Linked DNA regions of Homo sapiens: region 2 is linked to region 1. The links are contacts of gene promoters, found by promoter capture Hi-C in human tissues and cell types (Jung and others, 2019). All regions are on one chromosome and are shown on one strand. Each heading gives the region's core, a stretch centred on a gene start or on the middle of the fragment in contact. The rest is flanking DNA. Distances are from core to core; before and after follow the strand shown.

Region 1 (2,700 bases), core at 34-2,533:
TTTCAAAGGGAGAGACAACAGTATATTAACCATTTATAAGGTAATGTCATTTTCTCAATGTCATCAAAGTCTGTATCTTAAGAAATTTTAAAATAAAGAATACAAAGTAGGATATTAAAAAATATACAATGGAGAAAGAATATTTAAAATCACTAAAGTTTATTTCATGAGTTTTTATTATCATTACAGTTTGCTTCAAATCGATCAACTGAGCTTTCCCACAGGCCAAGTTGATTTGCTTTAAGATTACAGTGAATCCACTTGTAAGTGTATGGAGACAGGGCTAAAGTGGTAACAGTCTCATAAGTTTACTTTGTTTCTAGGAAAAGAACATTTCTTATGACTACAGAAACCTGACTAGGCTTCAGATACCGACTCTTCAGTTTTGACATAGCTGCCTTCACTTCTTTGTTTCTTAGCGTGTAGATTACAGGGTTTAAAATAAGCGTGAAGATGGTGTAGAATACAGCAAGGACTTTGTCAACTGAGTAACTGCTGAAGGGCCACACATAGATGAAAATGCATGGTCCAAAGAATAAAGTGACCACAGTGATGTGAGCAGTCAATGTGGAGCGGGCCTTCGCCATGCTTGCAGAGGAGCGATTCCTAACTGTAACAAGTATTACAGTGTAGGAGACAACCAAGAGGAGAAAGGAACTCAGAGAAAGAAAGCCACTATCTGCAACTATTAGTAAGCTGACAACATAAGTGTCTATGCAGGCTAACTTGGTCACTAGAGGAAGGTCACAGAAAAAACTGTCTACCTTATTAGGACCACAAAATGGCAGATTAACAGTGAATGCCAACTGGCTGGTAGTATGGATGAAGCCCACAAACCATGAAATGAGGACGAGCACAACACATACACGACGGCTCATGACTGTCATGTAGTGGAGAGGTTTGCATATAGCAACATAACGGTCATAGGCCATGGAAACTAGGAGCACCATTTCACTGCCAGTGAAGAGATGAACAAAGAAAATCTGGGCCAGGCAGGCATCAAAAGAAATAGTCTTGCGCTCAACCAGAAAGTCTGCAATCATTTTAGGGGTAGCAAAAGAGGCAACACATACGTCTATAAATGACAGGTTTGCAAGCAGAAAGTACATGGGGGTGTGAAGGCGGGAATCTGAGGTCACAGTGAGGATGATGAGAAAGTTGCCCAACAGAATTGCTAGATAAAGTAGTGAAAATGTAAGAAACAAGAAAGGTTGGAGCTCCCTTGAACTAGACAGTCCCAGCAACACAAATTCTGTCACCCGAGAATGATTTGTCTCATTCATCGATTTTGGAAGGGACTTAATTTCAGCTACCTGAATAGGAGAGAAACAGAGATCAGTTAATGAAGTGAGCATGGGTTTGATTTTCCAATTACACTTAAACTTTTCAGAATTCCAATTCCTATTGCTATGTATGTGTCTGGGTTTTCATGAGTTATTACAAGTTATACAGCTAGTACAGCTAAGTATGGAAGATTGCGTTAAAGGGGAGGGTTGTCAAGGAGATGTTCAACCAACTGGGATATCTAAATACATTAATTTAAGAAATAAAATCAACAATCTAAAAATGAATTTGAGCATCTGAAGTTTTTGTGACACTACAGAAATCAGTCTAAAAATCTACGGAGACAAAATCTAAACCAATTTTTTCTAAAGTAAATGATATAAAAATTTTTTGAACATCTGCCACAGAGGAAGATAATTTCACAAACTTGATGACTTAAAAAGTTAGATACGGAAGAGTATACACTGTATTGGTCTATTTAAATGAAGTTCAAAAATGGCAAACTAAGGTGTAGAAAAACCTCCTAGCAGTTATCCTTAAGGGACAGGAAGTGGTCATGGGAGGGGCTTCTGAAGTGCTGGTAATATTCTTTCTTGATGTGGTTGATAGTTACATGGGAGTATTTACTTTATGAAAACTTACTGAAATATGAACTTTTGCTTTTTTCACTTTTGTATACATAAGTTGCATAATTATGAAAATTAAAACAAGAGAGAAAGAGAGACAGCATTAGATTTGCATAAGAGAGCTCACAGGAGAAATCATTGCCTTAAGTGATTATACCTTATTTCTTCTCTACAGTTAAAAATTATATAAACTAAAGTACAGAACCCTGGCAAAATTGAAAGGCCCCAATATTATTGGAACTCTTTTATGATTCAGCTCTTCATGGAGTTCTACTTTATCATGAAATCTAGCACACTGGTTCCTTTCAATTAATCCCTGAAGGTATGAAGCTTCTTTAAACTTAGCCATTGGTGTTACTAACCATAGACATTTTATTGAGCTATGATTGATATTTCATTTGATGTGATGTGGCTTAAAAACTTATAAGTTATATTGCTTACTATAAATACTAATATAACTAATAAGTTATATTACTTATTACTAAGGAATTCAGACCAGGAAAAAAATGATTTTTCTTTTCTATTCAGTTACTCTATATTCTATGTTATCAGAGCTTTCTTCCTTTTGTTATTTTTATTTGTAGAAGCTATTTAGAACTTATAAAAGTTTTATGGAAAATAGGAAAAAATAAAATGTGAATTTTAAAGGAGCATTACATTATCTGATTTTGAAGAATCTTTCTCTACATCTTAATCAGGTCTTGGGAGAGGATGTCTTTTATTTTAATCATTTCTAACCACTTGCAACTTTTGATATTAATGTCTTCTTAGATCATAGCTGCAAATTGCT
Region 2 (2,700 bases), core at 190-2,689, 250 kb before region 1:
GACAGGGTTTCATCATATTGCCCAGGCTGGTCTCGAATTCCTGATCTCAGGTGATCCTCCCGCTTTGGCCTCCCAAAGTGCTGGGATTACAGTCGTGAGCCACCGTGCCCAGCCAGATCTCACTCTTTTGAAAGGTTTCAGTACACATGCAATTGATTTCTTCTGTCAGCTAAGATTAAAACTAGCAAAGATACATCACAGAAAAATAATATACGTATATATACACCCACCCACCACATAACTACTCAGTGAGGCCACATATGTTTAAAATGTTTTATTGAGCATTGGCATTTATCATTAATGAGCTGAATTTAACTGCTAAGGAACTGTGAAAGATAAGTCTGTCTACCTGAGTGTGAGCCAGAACATACTACTGAAGCTACTCTCTATAGTTATAAAAAATTAAGGTCAGAAGTGGCCAATTTGGCTTCTTTTTCAAAGATATCTCAGTTTTGGCTAACTGTTAACCCCAGGACTCTCTTTAGAGCATCTTTCATGTCTTTGTTTCGAAGACTATAGATAAGGGGATTTAAGAATGGAGTCATTGCTGTGTATACCAGAGTGATGATCTTCTGCATTCCTGCTGGGTTCCCTGATGTTGGGCTCACATACATCACCATAAGGGTTCCATAGAATAGAGACACCACCATTAGGTGGGACCCACATGTGGAGAAAGCTTTAGTTCGACCAGCACCAGAGGGAATACAAAGCACAGCTCTGATGACCAGAGTGTAAGATCCCAAGATGGAGAGGAAGGGCCCAAAGATAATCATCGAGTTGAAGGTGTAACAGATAAGCTCAGTGGAAGGAGCAGAGATGCAGGCCAGTGCAAACAATGGGCCTGGGTCACACACCAAGTGGTCAATGATGTTGGGCCCACAGAAGGGAAGTTGGGAGATAAGAACAATAGGGACTGGATAGCAGAGAAATCCGCCTACCCAGCATACACAGACCAGAATTATACAGAACTTCCCAGTCATGATGGAGGGGTAGTGTAATGGACGACAGATGGCCAGGTACCGATCATAAGCCATAACTGATAAAAAGAAACACTCTGTTGTACCCAGTGAAAAAAAGAAATAGAATTGCAGGAAGCAACCAGAGAAGGAGATGGTTTTAATCTCAGAGAGGATATTGACTAGCATGTTTGGGACAGTGGAGGAAATGTACCAGATCTCTAGAAAGGCAAAGTTTCCCAGAAGGATGTACATGGGTGTGTGGAGCCGCCTGTCCAATTTCACTGCACAGACAATAGCTCCATTCCCTAGCAGTGTCAGGAGATAGAGAACCAGGATGAATGAGAAGAAGCAGCTCTGCATCTCCCTTTGACCATGGAAACCCAGGAGGACAAACTCAGTCACAAAATGCATTGTTCTGTTCTGGGGTCCCAAAGCTGTTAGAAAAACAGAAGTAACCAAAGAATGAATAATAAAGAACATTTGGAGATTTTGCTAACTCATGCTGGATGATGTACTAAGTATTTTTACATACATTATCTCATTTGGTCTTCCTAATGACTCTTTGAGCTGCGAGGAGGTATTCTTTACCCTTCTCTTTCACAGACAGGGTAATTGAAGTTCAAAGAGATTAGAAGGGTTCACTTAAACATATGTACAAAGCCAGTAACGCCCAGATACACTGGCCTATTTGGAGATTGGTTTGGAACAAATCATGTTTCACTTCAAATTTTCTATAACCCTGAGTCTCAGTAATGTTTCATCTTTAATGGTAAAATCACTGCCCCTTAGATACTCTACATATAAATATAAACTTTGGATATATTCTTTTACTTTAAAGCAAAATTGAGTATAAATCTGAAGCAAGAATAGTTGCTATATTAAAATTGCCTTCTTAGAGCCTCATATGTAGAAGTCCAATAAAAAGCAGATAGGAATTAAACTTTGGGGAGTCTTCAGCTCCCTTCCTTTTGCTACTCTCAGGGAGGTGCTGCAGAACCCTTAGGAATCTGTAAAATGGTCTGAAAGCTACAAATCTAGTTCCCCCCAGATCACATTCTCCCTGGTGGCATCTGGATTTGCTGAATAATCCAGCCCCTTTTTCTCGTGAGGAGCTCTAGTTCTCTCAAAGCCCTTCTTTATGGTGAGCAAACTTTGTATCCTTTATTACTTTTACCCATTGATCTTGGTACTCCCCAAGTCAGCAGGTAAACTTTGACTTTGTTGAAACTACACAAAATAAGTCTAATTCCTCTCCCATGATGGTGGTAGTGAGGTCTTAAATAACTGAAGGCAGCTGTTATGTCCCTTACCTATGACTTCTTTGGCAGGCCACCATTTTCCCTGCTTGTCAGCCTCCTTCTCCAACAAATTGTACTATTCTACATCATGACTTAGCTCTTGAGGGAGCTTGCTGTTGGGTAAATCAATTTCTCTAGTAATAAAGCCATGTGCCTTTATTTTTGCTAGAAATTAAGTCCTAAACTTTATAATTTGTCCCTTCATTATCTTGCTTTTCCATAAATTAAATAATGAATAAAAGAGTCACCTCAGGATGTGCAGAGAACAGAAAGATCTTTCTGATATTTTCTAAATCAGGAGTTGAGACAAGATAAATAACTTAGATATTTTGCTAACAATTTTCTAGAAACTATTGGTCCAGCAGGCTTATTTCTGTGTCCTCAAATATCCTTGTTAAAGTTCAGAATATTTGGCTGGGTAAGCCACTATCAATATTTTAAAT

Evidence for each region. The method cuts DNA at HindIII sites, captures the fragments that hold promoters and counts their contacts. A contact is called where the count stands out against the background at its distance.
Region 2: a contact is called between the fragment with the promoter of OR11H6 here and the fragment with the promoter of OR4K15 in region 1, in 4 of the 25 tissues and cell types used here (H1 embryonic stem cells, adrenal gland, aorta and 1 more).

Annotation. Positions count from the first base shown.
Region 1 is chr14:19,974,174-19,976,873 of GRCh38, reverse strand. It overlaps OR4K15 (olfactory receptor family 4 subfamily K member 15), which reads right to left and starts at 1,283. Exons shown (of 1, transcript NM_001005486.2): 1 at 309-1,283. The coding sequence starts at 1,283. The coding sequence ends at 309. The HindIII fragment of the contact is 7,551 bases long and covers 1-2,700 here.
Region 2 is chr14:20,222,449-20,225,148 of GRCh38, reverse strand. OR11H6 (olfactory receptor family 11 subfamily H member 6) reads right to left here and starts at 1,439. Exons shown (of 1, transcript NM_001004480.1): 1 at 447-1,439. The coding sequence starts at 1,439. The coding sequence ends at 447. The HindIII fragment of the contact is 13,960 bases long and covers 287-2,700 here.